Regions from separate parts of the Homo sapiens genome. Here region 1 is linked to region 2. The links are contacts of gene promoters, found by promoter capture Hi-C in blood cells and fetal thymus (Javierre and others, 2016). All regions are on one chromosome and are shown on one strand. Each heading gives the region's core, a stretch centred on a gene start or on the middle of the fragment in contact. The rest is flanking DNA. Distances are from core to core; before and after follow the strand shown. Region 1 holds the start of TTC14 (tetratricopeptide repeat domain 14). Region 2 holds the start of LRRC58 (leucine rich repeat containing 58).

Region 1 (4,137 bases), core at 1,170-3,669, about 60 Mb before region 2:
GCTAATTACACCTAATTTAATACCAGATAGGTGTGGTGGAAGAGAAGAGCTATACAGAGATACTGCTAGCTTTTCATGGTATCTGTCAATATCCTTGATTCCAGCTTAAGAAAAAAAAAAAGAGAACTAAGCTGATTAGTAAGAAAATGTAAACTAACATAAAAAATATAAACTTTCCCAAACACTACCCTCTTAGACTGTATTTTTTTAAATTAATAAAAACAAAAATTCAACAATCATTACTTTTTTATTAGTATGATGAAACTAATCACCTCGAATGATGTCACCAGTTTGGTAATATGATAAAGGATCCCCATGGTTACTGTGAGAAGGCACATCTCTTAAGGGACAAAGAGCCTGTAATGAGAAGTATTTTAAAACACCAGACATTTCAAGCTTTGATAAGAACAGTGTCTTCTTTTATCTTAGTTGTTTGGTATGAAACAGCTAGTAGTTGAACAACCTAAAGTAAAAATTTAAATAAGGATTTAGTTAAAAGTAATTTCCGTGTCCAAACACAGTAAAATATGTTTGCTGGTTCAGTTAAAAAACTAAAATCTCATGAAACTTTCCATTAGTTTAGGAACCAAATATGATGGCTTATGACAGTATACAACATGCATCAAAAACAAACTAAAATTTGTCTAAAAGGTATAAGGATTCCAGTGAAAATGAAATGCCAATTCTCCAAAGTATTTTGTCTGTTATCCAATCTGTAATACCTTCTGCTTTTCTTCCTTTTTATCTGCCTGGATAGATGGCAAATACCCAATCTTTTATCGTGACACATTAGTTTAAATTCAGGACTATCCATCTTGGGCAAAGTATCTTAATATAATGTACAAACCACTTACATTTAATTATTGTAAATATATAAATGAAACTTCTCTCCAAATTATCCACATGAAAATATACAATGCCAAATATTAACTAATTAAGAATACATATGTTCAACTACAAGAAATAAGTCTGAATATCAATCAACCTCACCACGTCCACTGATACCTCTTTGAGCATTTAGAAAAGAACACTGTGCCTGCCAACCAGTTTAAATTTAAAAAATCCCAAAAACCAGAAATGGAGGGAGAAACTGGGTAACTTACACTAATTTTTTTAAACTATTTTTCTCCAATTAACATTTAATTTCCAAAAGCATCTTGGCAGGTATACTTGAGCACAACTGCATGCAAAGATATAGTTCTTGCATTGAGATGCGTTAACAAAAACAGAAGCAATCCAAGTAACAAAAATAACTTACTGTGATTTCTAAGTGGGCTATATCTCTCATGATACCACTTCCTAAACAGATCAACACCATGAAAAAACCGAATTCCCGAATAGAACTAATTCTTCCAATCACTATATCACCACGCTCAATATCTCGGAAAAACAGCTCTCTCCGATCCATACTAGGTATCTCCATGAATTGCTCTAAAGGTGGCATGATTGCATAATGATCTAAAAAAAAAAAATTAACAAAATCACTAACGATAGTTTTGAGTTCCGTTTCACCTGAAGTACTGTTAAACCGAACCGCAATCTTAAAGATTTTAAGGCTAAACTGACCTTCACTGTCTTCATTAATTTCAGAAGTTGCAGGTGCATCTGATTTCCAGGAAAGTGCAAAAAGCAGATCCGCTTTTTTGGAGATGAATTTCTGTATCTCGATGTTGTCAACTCTCTTCTCTTTTCTTAAAAAGAAAAAAATATATATGAAAATTGGGTTATCTGCAAAGCCTCTTTACTTCTAACCTTCTGCTTATGGCTTTCATCGCCCATTCCGCTCCATCCTAAGCTGCAGACAATACAACCTCAGACAAAAAGTTTTAACTAGGCATTCCCTCATTAACCAACCTGGAGGTGGAGAGCGGGGAAACTTAAAAAGTGACGCCTCCAACTCAGATAGGAAAGCTCAAGGGATTTTTAGCTAAGGAATCTGCGCCTCTACCAAGCAGTGCCAGAGAAAAAGTTCAGCCCGCATCCCGCATTGCACAACCCAGGAGCGCCCCCCGTCCACCCAGCCCAAGACACCAGCGCGCGATCGTCCTGTGCTCACGGCCGCGGCTCCACTTCCTCTAGACGCAAACCCGGGGCTGCGGTAGTGGCTGCCAGAGCTGCGTCCCCTCTTCCGTGGCGCAGTGGCACCAACGTCTCATTACCTGCCCTGCAACGGGTGCTGGGGCGGCGGGCCCCGGGCTGGCTCGGCGGCCGACCCCAGGAGGCTACGGAAGTGTGGATTGTCCTGCTGTTCGCTCCGAAGTAGAGAGAGCAAAGACGACCCGTGGCAATTTAGCGACTGCCGCAAAAGGTCCCGGTCCATGGCTAGAGAATGCAGGGCCCGGAGGCCGACGGGCTGATAGTTCCCTGTTCCGTGTCCGCTACTTGAGCCGGGTGGTACAGGAAGCGGAAGAAACTGTCTGGAGGCTGCCGGAAGTACACAGACAGCACAACCAGTTACACCCGGAAGTGTTCTGGGGTCGCCCCCACGGCGGCGCGGCGGAGCTCAGCCTCGATCTCGCGAAACCGAGCGAGACTACGGAAGGCCGAAGGATTGGGCTCAGCATTGCTTGGGCTAAAGGCTGACTAGGGCTTCCAGGAAGTGATGTATGTGAGAAGTTTGCTTTTTAAAGTGTACGTGGGATCGTTATTACGTCGAAATAGCTCGAGCTGTAACCTAGGGTAAATAATAATTCCTTTTCGTATTCATCAAGGTGCTTCTAAGTGCCAGTGCCAGGGTAAGAACCCTATACGAGTCTCCAAGCTTCTTCCCTCGACGTACTCTCTGCGTAAATCAATACCTGTGTCTCTGGCGTAACCCCATTCAACCGGCTGCTCCGGGAAGGTTTCCAGGTGGTTTTAAGGGCAGAAGAAAGGAAGGACACGGACATTTGTTAAGCACCTGGAGTGGTGTTCTCCATCCATACCCCATTTACTGTTAGTGATTGTGAATTCTAAAACCAGGATGGCTTTAATGTCTCCACACGTGCATATGCCATTCAAGTTTTACAATAACTAATGAACACATGCATTTCTTATTTAGTTTATCTCAATGGTTGCTCAAAATTTAGTGTCTGTGGGACTTACTGTATAGTGGTATGTACGCAAAAGTCAATATACTGTTCTTATGGACAATTCAAGTGATTTTCAAAGGGAATTTCAACTTAGGTCCCCCATCCCCTTACTTACTGACTTGAGAACCTAACCACTATGGTAGCTATTGTACTTTTTCATTTTAGAAAACGAGGAAACATGCTCAGAGAGTCCCAGTAAATTGCTCAATGGCACACAGCTAGTAAGAGGCTAGAGTTAGGATTCCAAACGAAGTATTAATTGGTCTTCTCAGGCAGAGTTGCTGGATTGAGTATTTTATCATATGGAAGGTCTAACTAACCCTAATTTTGAGATCATGTAGCTTCGTTTTATTCCAGTATAAAATTTGTACCATTTAAATATGTTCAGTGTAAATAGTTCAGTATAGTCCTCTTGAACAGAAATAAACGGTGACAGTTAGTCTCTCCACTTCCCACCATGTGTCTTTGAGGAAATCAACTTGCCTTTCACTGTGTTACCACTTTTGTATAGGAGATCTAGCCCAGAACATAATCGATACTGCCACACTGTTTTGTGGAAAACCCAGGCAAATAGGTAAACAGTTTGAGACTTGAGAAAATGCAACAAACAAGAATGCAACTGTAAAAGATAAATTTGGGTTAGGCACGGTGGCTCACACCTGTAATCCCAGTACTTTGGGAGGCCGAGGGTGGATCACTTGAGGTCAGGAGTTCAGAGACCAGCTTGGCCACCATGGCCTAACCCCGTCTCTACTAAAAATACAAAAATTAGCCGAGCGTGGTGGCTCATGCCTGTAGTCCCAGCTACTCGGGAGGCTGAGGCACGAGAATCTCTTGAACTCCGGAGGCGGGGGTTGTAATGAACTGAGATCGCGCCACGGCAGTCCAGCTTGGGCGCCGGAGGGAGACTCCGTCTCAATAAATAAATAAATAAATAAATTTCAAGCTTCTATAGGCATATCAACTTTAATAAATGGTACAGACTGACTTGTTTTAAGCCATAACTCTAGAGAATGGTTGTTTTTAGGAAAGAGTGCTGTCACTGAAAAGGAAAGCTGACCACTAA
Region 2 (4,362 bases), core at 1,101-3,600:
ACCTGTACCTACTGTGGAGCAGGCACTGTTAGGGGATGGGTATATAATAATAAGACAGTTCTTTTCAAGGACTTTACAATTTACTCTAATTATTCAAAAAATAAGTCCACTAACTAAGAGATATATCCAACTCAGTCAATCCAAATTATTTGCAAGAAATCATACTAGGCAATGGGGGATGGTGGTGGTGTGAGGGAGAATCCAAAAATGAATAAAGATAGTCATTCTATGTAAGTAGGAACCTACTCTAATTGGACATGAGATGTGCATTTTACACTGAAATTTACAGTTTCCTTGCCAATAGCTTCAATGAGGCAGAAACACAGTTTTCAACTTTTAGAAAGCAGTTTCTCAGTTATCTTAGCTGCTCAATGGTCTGGTTACATTTATCCTAAATTCAACAACCAAATAGTTGGAGACTTTATTAAATTAAAAGCTCCTAGTACAGCGTTGCAAGCAGTAGGTTTTCAAAATTTGTCAGGTTACTCATTTCTTTACCTACACCACTTTTTTTCTACTTCCTTTCCTTTATTCTATATAATGTGGAGTTCCCATACTAAGTATTTTTTTCCAAACTTTCTACTAGGAAGCCTCATTTGCTATTATTGAGGTTATCTTTTTCCCTTTAATTCCACTGATTTGTAATCTTACCTCTTATTTTATTTTTCTTGAGACAAAAAAAAAAAAAAGTGCAGGGCAGTGGCACAATCATGGCTCTCTGCAACCTCTACCTCTTAGGCTGAAACAATCCTCCCAGCAGCCTGTGTAGTAGTTGGCACCACAGGCGAGCGCCACTAGGCCCGGCTAATTTTTGTATTTTTTGTAGAGACGGGGTTTCCCCATGTTGGCCAGGCTGGTCTGGAACTCCTGACCTCAGCGATCTGCTGGCCTGGGCCAAAGCACTGGGATTACAGGCATGAGCCATGGCACCTGGCCAACTCTTATTTCTGAATTATGTTTGAATCCTTTCTTTTTCTCATTTTACATTACGTTCCTATCACTTTTTAAAATCCAAGATAAATATTTTAAAGCAAAAACAACTATTATTTTAAATATTTGTTATTTTCAGATATTAGGACTACTGTTAGAATGCTGGCTTGACCCAAAATAAGGTCTGTTCTTAAAAGGACTCTTTCAAAACAGATGACTCATCAGTTTTAAAAAGCATTCCACCATTAGCTTAAACATACAAAGTACGTCCTTCTAGGACTACCACTCAATCAGAAATTAAAGTTTGACTGCAGAGTAAAGGCATAGTTTCTCATACAAATAAATGACTGGCAAGAAAAAAACGACTTTCCTTTTTTAAGGAGGAAAGCAATTTAATGTCGTTGATTATACACGACCACTTAACTTTCTTATGTATAAGCTTTGTTAAAAAAAAAAAAAGCTAAGCATTTTTTCTCATTTCTATTCATTACTTTTCAAAATCATAAAATGTAATTTCAGAAAAGATTGAGTTTGGGACAAGGATGAAAAATACGTTAATTAGAATTACTAAATTAGTACCAGATCAGGATTTTCCCAAACTGTAGTTTTGACCTGCAGTACAAACTCTATGCTTTGAGTTTTTAAACTAACTCATTAATTTGAGCTATCTCAAATCATGCAACCGCCTCCATATCTCCCAAATTCACTCCTAGACACAACTTACACCAAAAGCCACGTATGTGCTTCTACAATTAAAACGGGCAAAACGTCCTTACTTGATACACATTTCTGCCTTAAAAAAGAAAAAAATAATTCTGTGGGGCAAGTAGTGCGGGTGTTACCCATATTTTATGCATGGGGCAACTGAAATCAAATCCCTGCCCTAGGCTATTTAACAGCGGAACCTCCAGTAAGGGTCCGGGGGTTCTGAGGTCTAGTCCAGCTGCGTTCACATTTCGAGGTCGGCTTTGTTAATCCTCGGACTTTAAATTCCTGCGGTTTTCTGTCATGGAGCTAAATCACCACTAAATTACTGTGTGCTCACAGAGTCCTGCAGACACGGGCCCCACTTTTAAACTGAAAAACAAGCGGGGGACGGGGGGGGCACGTGACGCGCGAACCCTCAAGGCGAGATAACCGAACATCCTTGGGCTGTTTGCCGAGGCAGTCTTGTAGCCCTGGAATAGGTCACCAGGCTCCAGCGACTATAAAGCGCGGCCGCCGAAACCCGGTCCGGCTCAGATGACAATTTGGCAGCCTCTGGGTGTCTGCCTCAGTTCTGCGCAGCCCATGCTGCGCTCTTGCCACTCCGCGCCCCGCGCCTCGTGAGGCAGAGCCCGCCCCGGAGCGGCGCGCGCACCCCAGGACTCGCGTCGCGTGACTCGGCCAAGGCGCGCAGGGTTTGCGCCCGCCCGCGCCACTTCCGACTCAGCCCTCGGTTCAGGTTCCGGGGCGCCGCAGAGCTCCCGGCCTCTGGACCGCGCGCGGCGCTCTGGGGAATCCGGCGCCACGCGCCGTGCGGTGGCCAGGATGGAGGAGGCCGGAGCAGCGGTGGTCACGGCCGGGGAGGCCGAACTGAACTGGTCCCGCCTCAGCGTGTCCACCGAGACGCTGGAGTCTGAGCTGGAGGCGCGGGGGGAGGAGCGGCGCGGGGCGCGGGAGGCGCTGCTGCGGCTGCTGCTGCCTCACAACCGTCTGGTGTCGCTGCCACGGGCGCTGGGCAGCGGCTTCCCGCACCTCCAGCTGCTGGACGTGAGCGGCAACGCGTTGACCGCGCTCGGGCCGGAGCTGCTCGCTCTGCGCGGCCTGCGCACGCTGCTGGCCAAGAACAACCGGCTCGGCGGGCCCAGTGCGCTGCCCAAGGGCCTGGCCCAGTCGCCGCTCTGCCGCAGCCTCCAGGTGCTCAACCTCAGCGGCAACTGTTTCCAGGAGGTGCCTGCCTCGCTCTTAGAGCTGCGCGCGCTGCAGACCCTGAGCCTGGGCGGCAACCAACTGCAGAGCATCCCGGCTGAGATCGAGAACTTGCAGAGGTGAGCGGGTGTGTGCCGGAGGGTGGGGAGGCCTCGGGCGGTGTCCGGGAACCCTGGGGCGCCGGGCCTGGGCACCTCAACGTTTGTCACGTAACTATTTCCAAGCTTTCTCTTTAACTGTGCGGTAGTGAGTTCTGCCCAACCATCTCAGCAAGTTGTTGTAAATACCTAGTATGTTCGCATGTGTGACTGTTTGGTGTGTTGTGTTTGGCCTATGCAGATTCTCGAGGCATTTTTTCTGTCTTCCTTATTGAATCTGGGGCGTGATCCAAACTGAGTGGAAACTCAAAACAGATGTAAATCAGAGGTTGTCACTTCTTTGCTCAAAAGTCTTCCGTGGATTTCCATCTCTATAGATCAAAGTACGTGCCTTTGAGCGTGGCGTACAAGGTGCTCTGATCTAACCCTTGCTTTCCACTACATTTGCAGCTTCCTCTTCTCTGTGGCAGTACCAACTACCATTTGTGGAGTTCAGTGACCTATGCATTTTCCCACGTAGAGAAAGCAGCTTGGAGTTGCTGGTAGGCACTCAGTATGTGTTGAATGGATGCAGTGCCTCTGTACACGTGCTGTTTCCCTTGCTTGGAATGTTTCCTTCACCTGGCAAACGCCTATCATCCTTCAAAAGCTATCTCAAGTTAATCATCTCTGTGATTCCTTTTTTACTACTCCCTGCACAACAATTTTTTTCGTTACTACTCCCTGCACAAAAAAGTACAGCCTATGCTGTACTTTCTCTGTGCTTCATTCATCTTGCCTTTGCATTTACCTTATTGGATATGATTCCTTGTTTACAGGAATTATCTGCTTCACCTACTAGATTATGCAGTAAATATGTTAAATTTAACTTTAGGAGGAAGCAGAGAAACAGGATAATAAAAGTGCCCGGTGGGGGAGTGGGAAATAGAGCCAAATGTATTGTACAAAACGAAAAAGAGGTATCTTCCATCTGTAAGATATTTTCACACTTTATTGTATTTTCAGAGATAACAGAACGTTAAAGGTAGAAGGGACCTCAGAGTTAAGTGGAGCAAAAGAATATTGGCCTGGGAAGGCCGGGCGCGGTGGCTCACGCCTGTAATCCCAGCACTTTGGGAGGCCAAGGCAGGTGGATCATGAGGTCAGGAGATCGAGACCATCCTGGCTAACAAGGTGAAACCCCGTCTCTACTAAAAATACAAAAAATTAGCCGGGCGCGGTGGCGGGCGCCTGTAGTCCCAGCTACTCGGGAGGCTGAGGCAGGAGAATGGCGTGAACCCGGGAAGCGGAGCTTGCAGTGAGCCGAGATTGCGCCACTGCAGTCCGCAGTCCGGCCTGGGCGACAGAGCGAGACTCTGTCTCAAAAAAAAAAAAAAAAAAAAAAAGAATATTGGCCTGGGAAAAAAGAACTCTTGGTGCTCCA

Evidence for each region. Contacts are between HindIII fragments. The CHiCAGO score rates a contact against its expected background, and 5 or more counts as called.
Region 1: a contact is called between the fragment with the promoter of TTC14 here and the fragment with the promoter of LRRC58 in region 2, in 1 of 17 cell types (total B cells). The highest score is 11.5, in total B cells.

What each region holds. Positions count from the first base shown.
Region 1 is chr3:180,600,445-180,604,581 of GRCh38, reverse strand. It overlaps TTC14 (tetratricopeptide repeat domain 14), which reads right to left and starts at 2,419. Exons shown (of 12, transcript NM_133462.4): 1 at 2,160-2,419; 2 at 1,567-1,691; 3 at 1,259-1,458; 4 at 273-357; 5 at 1-104. The coding sequence starts at 2,320. TTC14-DT (TTC14 divergent transcript) reads left to right here and starts at 2,469. Exons shown (of 3, transcript NR_183700.1): 1 at 2,469-2,679. RefSeq lists an enhancer at 2,339-2,628. The HindIII fragment of the contact is 2,365 bases long and covers 399-2,763 here.
Region 2 is chr3:120,347,342-120,351,703 of GRCh38, reverse strand. It overlaps LRRC58 (leucine rich repeat containing 58), which reads left to right and starts at 2,350. Exons shown (of 4, transcript NM_001099678.2): 1 at 2,350-2,960. The coding sequence starts at 2,461. It also overlaps the pseudogene BTNL12P. RefSeq lists a silencer at 2,355-2,684 and an enhancer at 3,035-3,084. The HindIII fragment of the contact is 1,696 bases long and covers 1,372-3,067 here.